5 separate regions of the Homo sapiens genome follow, and all the other regions are linked to region 1. Evidence: promoter capture Hi-C in 16 types of primary human blood cells and fetal thymus (Javierre and others, 2016). All regions are on one chromosome and are shown on one strand. The core of a region is centred on a gene start or on the middle of the fragment in contact, and the rest is flanking DNA. Distances in the headings are between cores, read along the strand shown.

Region 1 (2,700 bases), core at 127-2,626:
CACTCACTACAACCTCTGCCTCCCGGGTCCTAGCAATTCTCCTGTGTCAGCCTCCCGAGTAGCTGGGGTTACAGGCGCCCGCCACTACGCCCGGCTAATTTTTTGTATTTTTAGTAGAGACAGCGTTTCACCGTGTTAGCCAGGATGGTCTCCATCTCCTGACCTCATGATCCGCCCGCCTTGGCCTCCAAAAGTGCTGGGATTACAGGCGTGAGCCACCGCGCCCAGCCTTTTTTTTTTTTTTCTTGGAGACGGAGTCTCCCTGTCACCCGGGCTGGGGTGCAATGGCTTGATCATGGCTCACTGCAACCTCGGCCACCCTGGCTCAAGCGATTCTCCTGCCTCAGCCTGCCGAGTAGCTGGGATTACAGGCGTCCGCCACCACGCCCAGCTAGTTTTTGTATTTTTAGTGGAGAAGGAGTTTCACCATGTTGGCCAGGCTGGTCTTGAACTCCTGATCTCAGGTAGTCCACCCGCCTAGGCCTCCCAAAGTGCTGGGATTACAGGCGTGAGCCACCGTGCCCGGCCAAAATCATTTGCTTACTGAATGATACGGAAAATATGAGTGAACAAAAAAAGTATTGAAAAAGATGAGTTGATGGCAAAGGGAGGGAATTAATGTTTAGTGAACACTTAATTGGCAAGTAATGTTCAGAGCATTATATAAATTGTCTCATTTAATCTAACAAGAACCTTTTGAGGTAAATACGTTATCCCAATTTATAGAGGAGGAAACTAAGATTTATAAGGATCTCATCAATCAGAGAACTCTTAAGTGGCACCACTGGACTTTGAAAGGAAGTCTGCCTGATGGACTCTGAAGCTCATCCTCTCTCTATCCTCCTAATGCATATAATGACGCATTTGTTATCTACTGACTTTTATAAAATAAACAAGGAGGCTTATGCGATTGTACAGCCCGAGTTCGCAGGAGATATGTGACCACTTTTGATCTGATTCCGGAAGCAAATTCACTTTAACAGTGAGGTGCCGTGATCTTTATGTCATTAGCGCATATGATATGGGTATCATTTGTTGTGAAAGACACTAACCCATGATGTTTTTGTTTACGTATATCTGTAAATGTATCAATTCTGTAGTTGGTTAATTTTTAGTTACGAAAAAATGAACCAAGATGTAGTCAAGATTTGGCTTAAATGTTGAACGCATAATCACCAAAGAAAATTAAATAATGAGCTTTGTGACACCTTTCAGTTCGCCAACAGACTGATAAAACCAGTACAAAGGGGGAGGGCCGGGACCGAGGGGGCGGGACGGTGAGAAACGGGAATCGAGCAAGCGCAGAAACAAACAGATGTTAATGGAGGCGTGAAGGCTACTGCGCTCTCACTTTCCGAACTGTCGTAAAGAGCCCTAGTGTCGTGCTCTCCTCGGTAGGGGAGGAATTGGTTAGGCGGCGGCGGCGGCGAAGCGGCGGCGGCGGCTGTAGGGGAGCAGCGGCAGTGGCGGCGACGGCGAGGAGGTGTTCGGTTTGCGCAGCGTAGAAACGCCCGCAGCTTCAGAGAAGGAGTTCTTGTGGGACCAAATTAGGCATTCTGAACCCACGCCGGCTTAGCTGGGCCGAGTCCAGGCGCTGCCGCACGTACAGTTTTGGTGGCGGTGACAGACACTGTTCTTGACTCTAGGGGCCTATTAGGCCGACGTCTGAGGCGCAGATCGCTGGCTCTCGACGCATTACTCTTTACGCCTTACATTTCTGTCTTCCTTCCTGGGTCAGTGATTCCCGGACCCTGGAAGAGAAGAGGGTGGCTAATGATTAAGGTGAGGGGAACGGGGGGGGAGGGGATCCATTGGAGGCCGCGCGTGCGCGCAACGGGGGAGGGGCCGGCCTGGAGGGGAGAAAGAGGAAGGGCTGCGGCCGCGGAAGGCTGGGGTCGGTGACCGGCCGGTTATCTCTGGCTCGGTGGTGACTTAGGGTCTGGGTCTCCGCAGACGATTTGTGTTTGGGCAAGGCATTCGTCTACCGACACACCCACAGCCTACAGTGAGGGAGTGTGGGTGAGGGGATTTCTCTCCCACTTCCGACTCTCCCTAGAGTCTCAGGATGGGGGCTGAGGACCGAGGCGTGGGAGTGCGATTTGACAATGGAGTGATGAAGGTAACCCGGACCCGGGGAGTTGGAGGGCGCTAAGTCAGCCCTGACGGCTAGGGAGTCGCCTGCTGCTGCTGTGATCAAGGAAACGTAGTCCGCGGAACAGCTGAAATACAGACGCGTCAGATTTTGTATGGAGTTGGCTTGTTGGTCATTTAAAAAGAAACTGATGTTTTTACTATTGTCCTTCGATAATTTATCAGAGTCAGTGTCAGTGCTATAGTGGGAATATCTGTTCAGTGCAGCAGAAATAGATTTGTTACAACAGTTCTTAAATAGGTTATAGTAGATAGATCTTTACAGATGGGTATTTCTCAACCTAAGTTTTGATTATTCAAAAAATACCAGAAAGTATGAGGTATTCATTTAATTTGTTCGTGTGTGTGTTGTGGGGTGACTCCATTGTGTTGTTGTAAGCTTTCCTGTTTCTTGATTTATGTGCGGCATTAATTTAGAATTCTCTTGAATGGTAAGATGCCAGCTGACATAGACTACGTTTTGTAGGATTTCCTGTAGCTTTTGAATGTGACTTAATCTAAACTTTATTTCATTTGGTATTTTATCTATAATTTTCTTGTTTTAGGGGC
Region 2 (2,700 bases), core at 89-2,588, 490 kb after region 1:
GGCATGTGCCTGTAATCCCAGCTACTTGGGAGGCTGAGGAAGGAGAATTGTTTGAACCTGGGAGGTGGAGGTTGCAGTGAGCCAGGATCATGCCACTGCACTCCAGCCTGGCTGACAGAGCAAGACTCCATCTCTAAATAAATAAATAAATTGGGAGAGTGGGCATAATATAAAACTGATACTTGGCCGGGCGTGGTGGCTCACACCTGTAATCCCAGCACTTTGGGAGACCAAGGTGGGCAGATCATGAGATCAGGAGTTCAAGACCAGCCTGGCCAACATGGTGAAACCCCATCTCTACTAAAAATACAAAAATTAGCTGGGTGTGGTGGCAGGTGCCTGTAACCCCAGCTACTTGGGAGGCTGAGGCAGGAGAATCACTTGAACCCAGGAGGCGGAGGTTACAGTCAGCCGAGATCGTGCCACTGCCCTCCAGCCTGGGCAACAGAGTGAGACTCTGACTCAAAAAAAAAAAAAGCAAAAACAAACAGAAAACAAAACAAAGAACAAAATAACCTCATACTTGTAGTATCAGTTTTAAAACAGAGGTGTGAAGATATTTAAATTGTATTTCAATGATGTAAAAGGTGTATTTTTTATTTATAGATTCTTGAAGAATATCTTCTGTAAATTGCCTGAGTTTTTATTATTATTATTATTGCTGGTTTATAGCTGTTTTTCAGTTCACGCAGTAAAATTTTACTGGGTTATTTGATTTTTGAGAATCATCCCTGCAGGTGATTTTATATTACAAAAGTAAAGCTGAAGCCATTCTTAAGATGTGAAACTTACTGCTAGACCCTGATAGAACTAGTCAAATCGAGATATATTAACACTGTATCTTGGCAAATTTGCCTAGATAAGTCTTTATGATTTTCTGTCATGTGACTCTGAACAGTTATACACTGGAAAAAAAGTAAAATATGTTTTCAAACCATTACCCTATGTGATCCTCAAGAGCTAGAACAGAGTCTTAATATTTCTATTTTCAACACCTACCAATGTCTAAGACATAGTAGGAGCTCAATAAATGTTTCATAATCAAGAGCTCTGGGTCTCCTTGCCCCTTCCAGAACCCTATAATTATTGCTTATATTCTTTCAGCAGATACCAGTGTCAAAACAGATGACTCTTGTATACTAATACACAGTAAGTGCTTGATAAATGTTGAATGGAAGAATTTATTGTTTTAATACATCTCCATCCACAGTGTCTGTTAGCGGTTTGCCTTGTGATATGGAGAAGCTTATCAATTATTTATTCCTCAGAAACTTTCCACCAATGATCATCATCATTATAAATTTAGAGGAAGTAATATAGTCAACTATGAATTATACATGTCTGGGTTATCCATACTGTCTTTGGTTTAAGCCGTTATCGGTCCCTGGAAGCCGAGCCCTGGTGAGCAGTCCGTGGTCCTTTTATTGGTGGTAAGCTTTCCTTTCCATGCCAGTTTGATGGCTGGGGGTAGTAGTTTGGACCCCCATGTCTTTTTATGGCTTTAGCTGTGTCTCTGGCCTTTGGGAACCATGCAGTGGGGTCTGCCACCTGGCTGGTTAGAATCTGCGGACCTACTTTAGTTCCCATGTGCTCAACTTCATGATGTCCTTCTGGCTTGGAATGTTGGCTTTAACCTAGTTGGGTTATGGGAAACTGTATCAAGCCCTCATCTAATTGAATATATCATACGTAGTTTGCTAGTTTAATAATTTGCAAAAGGACTACTGGAGTTTTTGAACTTGAGCGATGAGTGCAGCATTGGGCTTTACTAACATGGGAAAGCAGGGGCGTAGACAGTGATGTTAACATGTAGTCGGACTAACATACAGGACCTTGGTTCAGTGTGCTTCCAGTACTGCCAATGAGGAAAGAGTTTTGGCTACTGGACTTCATGCATTTTACTGAAAAAGGGAATTTCAGCCTGCAGCTCTGTGATCTGGTTCTATTGAAACAGGTATATCAGCGGAGGGGTTTTGGTGATTATCATCCAAATTCATTTTGTTTTCATTCTACCCACTAGATGTGGCGTGTTGTATGCCTTGACTTCGGGGGAGAAGACAGTAAATTGAATGGAATTCGAATATTTATTCAGTTCTGTTGACAGAGGTTTTTCAATGTAAATGAATAAATTAGTGTTCTGGTGTCTGCTCTGTCTCCAGTACATTTTAGCTTGTCTGAGTCCTCTTTGAGGACCTGATCATGTCTGGGAACCAGAGATTGATAACAGCTCAAATCAAAGGGATTGATAACAGCTTAAACCAAAGACAGGATGGACAGCTAGAGATAGTCTCTAAGCCTTCAACTCAGAAGACCAGATCCTAGAACATGGAGCTAAATTAATTGATAAATCACTCACTAATCCACTAACCCACTAACAGCCAGGCATTGTTAGAGGCACTGGAGCTGCAGTAATGGCCCAAGCACACAGGCCTCTGATCTTCGCCCTGCTGCACACTTTAGTGGGGTGTACAGGCAGTCAATGCTAAGTAACCAAGGTGATGTTAGCTGATGTCAAGTGCTCTGATGAGAGGATGTGATGGAGAGTGACTGTGTGGCTGTCTTAGAAAGGATGGTGGCCGGGCGCGGTGGCTCATGCCTGTAATCCCAGCACTTTTGGGAGGCCGAGGCGTGCAGATCACGAGGTCAGGAGTTCAAGACCAGACTGACCAATATGGTGATACCCTGTCTCTACTAAAAATA
Region 3 (2,700 bases), core at 193-2,692, 470 kb after region 1:
GATTTTAGTTTTTCCTAGTTAGGTTACTTAATTACCTAATAGATGCCAAATACATGTTTCTTAAGTTAGGCTATTCTGTAGATTAATATCTCAACTGAGATGTCTTACAACTTTAAAACTGTAAAGATTCTATGATTCTAAATAACAGCATTTCCCACACTGGCCTGATTTTATTTACGGTAGTCCCCCCTTATCGATGGTTTCACTTTCCACATTATCCAAGGTCAACCATGGTCAAAAATATTAAATAAAAAATTCTAGAAATAAACAATTCATAAGTTTTAAATTGTGTGTTGTTCTGAAATAGTGTGATGAAATCTTGTGCGATCCTGCTCCCTCCTGCCCAGAACGGGAATCATCCTCTTGTCCAGCATATCCACACCATGTATACCTGGCCCTGTGAGTCACTTAATAGCCATCTCTGTTATCAGATTGACTGTTGGGGTATTGCAGTGCTTGTGACCAAGTAACCCTTATTTTACTTCATAATAGCCCCAAAGTGCAAGAGCACTGTGCCTAATTTATGAATTAAACTTAATCATGAGTATGTATGTGTAGAAAAGAATAGTATATATAGGCTTCGGTTTCAGGCATCCACTGGGGGTCTTGGAATGTACCCCTGACAGATGAGGGAGGGCTACTGTAGTCTATATGGCAGAAATGCTTCTCTTTGACACTGAAGAACTCTTTGGGCACCATAGCTTGTTTGGCATGAATGACTTTTTTTTCCTTAAATGTAATTTGTTTAAAGTTCTTTGTCTAAGAAAATGAAATGTGCACATTTTGAAACTCCAAAAATAAAACACTAGAGAGATGACGCCAAAACAGTGATTTCAATCAGAAATGCTTTCTGAATCCAGCATCTAAATGAGAATTAATTATGGAATCAGATCATAGTTAGTAGGCATTCATTATTTTAAGGCAATTGATAGCAGTATTGAGGAACCTAAATAATAAAGTATTTTAAACATCCTCTAGTGTTTTTCACATTTCTAATGAGTTGTGGGGACCAAATGTTCCTTATATGCAAGATGAAATATGAATGATTGTATCTTATTATAAAGTTTTCAAGTTCTAATGAGGAATATCTTTCTCACTCCCTTGGTGGATAGATATCTTCCCACAAATCAGATCACATTGATCATGTGCTGTTTTATTTGAGATTAATTTAGAAATAAGTGCTCTTCATTTACCATGGAATTAGTAGTAAAAGTTTTCTGAGATCAAATTTACTGAGGTAGTTTCCTGCAAAATTCTACAGAGAAGTATAAGATTGGATAAGCCTATTAAACACTCTAGTTTCTGTTAAAAGTGGTTTCTCAAGCTTGAGATGCAGATTTGGAGTGAGGAAACTTCAGGAAACTCCATTGTACAGTCCCTGTTGGTCTGTCTTGCAAGGCTTAGCAATATTAATTTCAGAAGAGCTTTGATTTTGCTTGATTGCTTTTCTTCTTATTTGGAAACATATGCTGTTTATTTCATGTATAAGATACAAAACATTTAATAATATAACTTATCAGTGTTTCAACATAATTTATGATCCACTTAGCAACTTAATAATAAGCTTTTGAGGTTAAGTTCTAGATATAAACTGTTAAATAATTTAGTGCTTATTTTTTCAACAGATGTGAATTATTAAAAAGAAAATGGCCCAACGGAGCACTGTATTTCCTTCTCGTGTCACCAAGGAAAGGTATAATATATGGAAAATATGCATCTAAGGTATACTTTTCCTTTCCACTCATCCCATGGGGGCTGCTAGTGGGTGTGATAGTTACAAATCAAAGCTTGGGCTGTTACATTATCGGAGAATGGTTTTGTTCAAGGGCAAGAGAAACACTATTGTGTCCTCTAGCTTTCAATTTATAGGATACTGTGGACCACTCAGTGACCCCAAGAAGTAGAGATTTCACAGTAGTCCTACAGTAGACTTGAATTTCCTGTTGAGAGTGAAATATAACTCCGGGGGCTTCAGGCTAACATCCCTGTTAAGCTTTTTAAATCAGAAGTTGCAGATTAGGGGCCTATCGGCCAAAATTGGCTCATGAAGTACATTGCTTGGCCTAGCATGTTCTTAAATACTTTTTTTGGAGACAGGGTCTCACTCTGTTCCCCAGGCTAGAGTGCAGTGGCACAGTCACAGCTCACTGCAGCCTTGACCTCCTGGGCTTAGGTGATCTCCCACCTAGCCTCCTGAGTAGCTGGGACTATAGTTATGTGCCACCATGCCCAGCTAATTTTTAAATAATTTTTTTTGTAGAGATAGGGTCTCGTTGTGTTGCCCAGGCTGATCTTAAACTCCTGGGCTCAAGCAGTCCTCCCACCTCAGCCACCCAAAGTGTTGGGATTACAGGTGTGAGCCACTGTGCTGGCCTTAAATACTTTTTAAATGAATCGTTAACATTTTAAAATCAAGCGATTTCACATACAAGTCGGGATTTGCTAGCTTTTCTTGAGAAATATCAGATCATCTGGAAAAAGGGACCTGAAATCCCTGATGGTCACTCATGGGTGGAGCAGAACTGTGGCTCCCTTTAGCTGGGAAATGCCCTTTCCAGATCTCTAAATCCCTGACACTCCCTATTGCCTCATATGTAGTATGCTTCACTCATTTATGTCGCCTGCCTGACCCACGTAGGCATTGAGTTTGTAACCACTGTTTCAGAGAGGGAGGAGGAGGAGAGCATGTTAGGAGACTTT
Region 4 (2,700 bases), core at 34-2,533, 430 kb after region 1:
CTGGCAGAGGCAAGGAAACTAAACTTTTTCTAGAGCCTCTAAAAAGAATGCAGCTCTACATACATTTTGATTTTAGCCCAGTGAGGCCTATCTTAGACCCCTGACCTGCAGAACCGTAAGATAATAAGTTTGTGCTGCTTTAAGCCACTAAGTTCATGATTTTTTATTTAATGACAGCAAAAAGAATAATACAGAGGCTGAGAGGAGTTAGCTGCTCTTGAGTGATGGAAGGATTCCACATTCAGAACCACTCTCCTATACCTCTTGCTACTAAAACCATTCAATATCAATGATTTGTTGTTAAGCAGAAATGAACTGATTAAGGGATACTCAGTAGTTTACAGAATCTCTGGGAGGGTCACAGACTGGGTTCTGGAGCACACAGCCAGGTACAATCCCTGAACATACTGTAGGGCTGCTCTTCTAAAACATTTAAACAAATCTGTTTATATGTTTACTTTGGAAAGTTTCAAACCACAGAAAAATGGAAAGAGCACTATAATGAATCCCCATATCTCCTGGACTTGGTTGGGTTTCCCTCAAAGGAGATCCTGAGAGAACTTGGGTACAGGACATTTATTTGGGAGGTGATCCCAGAAAGCACAAGTGAAAGGGTGCAGGACATGGGACAGGAAAGGAAAACACAGTAATAATATGTGCATTCCTGTGGTGGTCACCGCTGTGTGCAACCGGGGCTCCGTCCTGGGGACCTTCTGGGAAACCATGCACGATAAGCTTCCCATTTGTCTCGCCAAAGGATGGAGAGACGGGGGCTTTTGTCCACTGCCTCCTCTCCCCTTTGGTTAAGAGTCAACCCTGAGAAAGTCAGCTGCCTCAGTTTCCAGGTTGTGCCTAACCAGTAGTATTGCACGCTTCTCTGTGCTGGAGAAAGCCCTCTGGCAGAGAAGCCGTGAGATGCGTCATTTGAGGTGTCAAGTCTTCCCATGGCAGAAACTGTGAACCACAGCTGTGAGTGAACTCAAACAGGAGCTGAAGGGATGTGGGGTGGGGCATCAACATCATCTGCTACAATCCCTCCTAAGATTTACTGCTAACATCTTGCCGTCTCTTTCCCTCTCTCTCTATACACCCACACATACGACAAAGATAAAGTATTTATCATGTGCCGGGCACTGTGCCTCTATTCAGCCCTTGAGTCTGCATAATGACCCTATGAAGCAGGTATCCCATACCTGTCATGCTTAGCGGTCACTGGAATCATTCCAAAGGGTGCTGGAACCATTCTATTTTCAAATATCATTATGCTGGAAATTACATTTTGTGCAACTATTTGAACTTATGGTGACAAATTTTAGATGCCAACCTAAAAATATACAGGAAGGTGCATAGTTTTTCAAAGTTCTTTCTGCGAGTAAGCAGCCAAAGAGTCCCCATCCTAGACTTGTGCCGTCGTGTCTGCATCTGGTGCTATGCCCAGAATCACTGAAGAGGATGATGGGGGCTGGGGTAGGGGGAGACATGGGGAAGGAGCTAAGACACTTCTGTGGTTGCCCTGAAAGAATCCTGGGAAATACATTTTTAAAAGAAAAACAAAATGAGGGATGCTATAGATAGAAAGTGAGTTCAGCTTGCTGAAGGTCCAGATGGATGCGTGCTGAATACCCAGGCTGTGCTCTCCACATTCTGATTCTGTCCCTCTCGGAGCCTGAGGATGCTGAGTTAGTGGTCACATGCCGTACCACCCTGTCGCCTCCCCTTTTATATTTACTTCGTTTTCTTAATGTTGCCTCCCCAACCTCTAAATGTTCAACTTACTTTATGATCAAAGTAGCTATTTAAAAACAAACAAACAAACAAACAAACAAAAAAACAAGCTTTTCTGGCTGGATGTGTTGGCTCACACCTGTAATCCCAGCACTTTGGGAGGCCGTGGTGGACAGGTCACTTGAGGTCAGGAGTTCGAGACCAGCCTGGCCAACATGGTGAAACCCCGTCTCTACTAAAAATACAAAAAAAAAAAAAATTAGCCAGGCATAATGGTGCACGCCTGTAATCCCAGCTACTCAGGAAGCTGAGGCAGGAGAATTGCATGAACCTGGGAGGCAGAGGTTTCAGTGAGCCCAGATCATGCCACTACACTCCAGCCTGGGCAACAGAGTGAGACTCTGTCTCCAAAATAAATACATAAATAAATAAAAATAAAAAGATTTTTTTTGCTTGATTATCCCTTTTATTTTTTTTATTATACTTTAAAGTTCTAGGGTACATGTGCACAACATGCAGGTTTGTTACATATGTATACATGTGCCCTGTTGGTGTGCTGCACCCATTAACTCGTCATTTACATTAGGTTTATCTCCTAATGCTATCCCTCCTCCCTCCCCACAACCCACGACAGGCCCCGGTGTGTGATGTTCCCCTTCCTGTGTCCAAGTGTTCTCATTGTTCATTCCCCACCTGTGAGTGAGAACAAGTGGTGTTTGGTTTTCTGTCCTTGTGATAGTTTGCTGAGAATGATGGTTTCCAGTTTCATCCATATCCCTACAAAGGATATGAACTCATCCTTTTAAAATAGGATTTTTTATCTAACTTTGTCGGGAAGACAAGCTGACACTTTCTTCTCTTCTAGAGCACAAATACGGTAGCATTCTCTTCACAGTGCAAGCACATTGAGGGCACGATGTGAGCTGTGAGGTAGTTGTGAGGCTGTGATGAGAAATGAGCTATGGGGGCAGAGGC
Region 5 (2,700 bases), core at 170-2,669, 450 kb after region 1:
CAGGCACCATTTCAACACCTCTCCAAATCAACCATCCCTACAACAGGATTTATTTTCCAATGAGCGAAATCCCCGCCCGCCAACTCCAAGGCGCTTGGATGCGAGCTCTGTGGGAAACAGCAGCGACGAGCAGAGGCTATTTTGGGTGTGGGAACGAGGAGGGAGGAGGGGCGGCGCCGCCAGGCTGGGCGCGGGTGCGCGGGGAAAGCCTCCAGCTCGGGCTGCCACGGCAACCGCGTCCAGGCAACGCGCCCGGAAGCGGCTCCGGCGGCGCGCGGCGGCTCGCGCCCCCCGGGAGCCGCGAACCCGGCCGGGCCGCGCGCCGGGCCAGGCGGCAGGCGCGCGCTGATTGGACGGCGCTCCCCGCGGCGCGGGCCCGCAGCCGGGCGCCCTGCTCAGCCAGCGCCAGCGGCCGCCGCACCCAGCCGCGCCGGCGAGGACATGGGCAGCCGCGGCGCGCCCACCCCCCGCGCCGGTGAGTGCCGCGCTCTGGGAACCCCGGCCGGGCGGCCTCTGGGGCTGGGCGGCGGGAGCTCTCTGGGACGGCCGGTGACCTTGGGGCAGCCTCTCAGGAGATAGGCGTGGGGTAGAGAGAGCTGCGCGTGGCCCATGTGACATGCCGCGGGCGAGAGGGTTAACTGCATGTGACGCGAAGGGCTGAAGTTGGGCACAGAGCGCAACTGGCGTTGCATTTTCGCGGGGGCTGCATGCTAGCGAACCAACCGACGCCCGGAGGGACTGTTTGGGGGAGCTGGGGTGGTGCACGGATTGCCAGGGGTAAAGGCGAGTCAGCCGACCCACTACTCAGAGTGAGTGACCTTGGGTAGGTTAACCATCTGCTCTTCCGCCCCTTCGCTTTTTCTCATCTTTCAAACGAGAGGCTAGGGGGTCTTTGCAGTTCCAGAATGCTGTTGTGCCATCCTACTGCGAGCTGAGAAAGAGCCCTAAAGTACGGTTCTGCAGGTACCGGAGATGCAAAGCTTAACCATGTTTATTCTAGGAGGGGTTTCCATTAATTGGCTCCTAAAGTGGTAAGAAATGTTATCGTTGTCTGGAAGATTATGGAGCAAGCAGTCGGTGGTCCGGAGAATGGCTTCTTAAGATGCACAGGTTAAAACCTCTTTGGTGCCCTAAAGACATGAACAAAATCAGGATTAATGCTCCTAAGTTCTTCTTTCCTGTAGTTAATCTAATAGGAAACTTTGTATTTGAACAGGTAAAATCAAAACCCAATCGTGGCAGGCAGCAGCAAATTAAGTGAGTCATTTCTTCAATGTGCACGAGGTTTATGTGTGTGTGTGCGCGCGTGTGTGTGTGTGCGTGTGTGCGCGTGCGCTCTCGTCCTCAGCTCAAAGTCTGCGTACGGCAGTGTTGGAAATTATTTCATAGGAGTAACCAGAAATAATGCTAGAATGATTCGAATCCACAAAAGTGCAGCTCTCTCAGAAGCAAGGGCAAACATTTGCAACTTGCTTTTAAAATAAGAGGTTTGTAGAGTAAATATATTCTTTATTGAGAACCATCCCCAGATTTGCACATTGTATCTGCCTTCTGGGCCCTGTCACTGAATGCGCGTGTGTGTATGTGTGTGTGTGTGTGTTGGGGGGGGCGGGTTCCTTGGCACTTATAATATTTTTAGCGTTGACTGGTACTAAAAAGGACACTTAGGCCCCCTTCCATATCCACTGTCTATAAACTTCCCTCTTCCACGGAGGGGAATGGAGGACGTACCCTCTCACAGGTACCCCTGGTTGCCCCTTCTGACTTTCTACTTAAAGCTACCCTTGATTTTCATTCGAATCTGATTTCATCTGTATAAGAACGTGGGTTGGGAAGACACAGTTTCCAATGCTAATGAATAAGCTTCTGCAAGCTTGTTTACCTGAGGGCTTAATAACCTTTAATGTGTTACATGTTAGAAATCTGATAGCATACGGATAGAAAAATACTTAGTGTCCAGGAATTCAACCATGAAGCCCTACCAACCATTTAATGAGCCACACTACATGGTGCTTGGAAACGTTATTAGCGCATTATTCAGCCTCCTCTCTCTGCAGGCCACTAGGCTGTGTCACTCCGACCTGGCTTTAAATGTCTTGTTTCTTGTATCCTGCAGCCACACTCTTGCATTTTCATTTTTTATGTAGCTGAACCCACCTTCTCTCCCGAGCACCAGAGCCTGAGTGAACAACTTGCCGCAGAAGAGCCTTCTCTAGTGTCCTCCACCGTCTCACCAGAGTAGGGATGCTCTTCCGCTTCTCCTTAGTGCTGCCTCCAAACCAATGCACCATCACCAACCAAGTCTCCTCTCGGAAGGTAGTGCTATCTGCTTGTGCCCCTACCCTCCTTCTTATCTTCTGGTCCAGTGCTTCCCAAACCTGGGGGCTCCTCAGAATCACCTGGGACATTTTGAAAAACTTGGTCTTTAGACTCTCTCAGATATACCAAATTAGAATCATTGGGGGCTGGGGCAGGGTGGGGGAGTAAGACCTAAAAATCCCTACTTTAAAAACAAACCCCAAAAGGAGGAGCAGCAGGAGACGATGAAGAGAAGGAACAGAACTCTCTGGGCAATTCTGATGTACACCCAGGTACAGTGGGGATCTCTTCACTTGATGCCCCAAAAAAGGGATAAACAAACAAAAAACGTGAGCAGCCAGCTTCATTCTCTTCTCTGCTTTGTCTCTTGCCAGTGACTTT

The links. Contacts are between HindIII fragments. The CHiCAGO score rates a contact against its expected background, and 5 or more counts as called.
Region 2: a contact is called between a fragment that was not itself captured here and the fragment with the promoter of RNF111 in region 1, in 13 of 17 cell types (total CD8 T cells, naive CD8 T cells, naive CD4 T cells and 10 more). The highest score is 14.6, in total CD8 T cells.
Region 3: a fragment that was not itself captured here is called in contact with the fragment with the promoter of RNF111 in region 1 in 3 of 17 cell types (M2 macrophages, endothelial precursors and naive B cells); the score reaches 6.9 in M2 macrophages.
Region 4: a fragment that was not itself captured here is called in contact with the fragment with the promoter of RNF111 in region 1 in 3 of 17 cell types (M2 macrophages, naive B cells and total B cells); the score reaches 7.0 in M2 macrophages.
Region 5: a fragment that was not itself captured here is called in contact with the fragment with the promoter of RNF111 in region 1 in 4 of 17 cell types (endothelial precursors, total B cells, naive CD4 T cells and 1 more); the score reaches 6.8 in endothelial precursors.

What each region holds. Positions count from the first base shown.
Region 1 is chr15:58,986,287-58,988,986 of GRCh38, forward strand. It overlaps RNF111 (ring finger protein 111), which reads left to right and starts at 1,377. Exons shown (of 14, transcript NM_017610.8): 1 at 1,377-1,782. RefSeq lists a silencer at 2,096-2,260. The HindIII fragment of the contact is 2,845 bases long and covers 1-2,528 here.
Region 2 is chr15:59,476,656-59,479,355 of GRCh38, forward strand. All of the region lies in intron 3 of FAM81A (family with sequence similarity 81 member A), which reads left to right. Among named protein-coding and RNA genes, the nearest start is that of FAM81A, 40 kb to the left of the region's middle. The HindIII fragment of the contact is 190 bases long and covers 1,244-1,433 here.
Region 3 is chr15:59,456,925-59,459,624 of GRCh38, forward strand. It overlaps FAM81A (family with sequence similarity 81 member A), which reads left to right. Exons shown (of 9, transcript NM_152450.3): 2 at 1,626-1,722. The coding sequence starts at 1,703. Among named protein-coding and RNA genes, the nearest start is that of FAM81A, 20 kb to the left of the region's middle. The HindIII fragment of the contact is 240 bases long and covers 1,323-1,562 here.
Region 4 is chr15:59,415,582-59,418,281 of GRCh38, forward strand. It overlaps a transcript of FAM81A not described here. Among named protein-coding and RNA genes, the nearest start is that of FAM81A, 21 kb to the right of the region's middle. The HindIII fragment of the contact is 1,100 bases long and covers 734-1,833 here.
Region 5 is chr15:59,437,808-59,440,507 of GRCh38, forward strand. FAM81A (family with sequence similarity 81 member A) reads left to right here and starts at 379. Exons shown (of 9, transcript NM_152450.3): 1 at 379-475. RefSeq lists a silencer at 77-606. The HindIII fragment of the contact is 883 bases long and covers 979-1,861 here.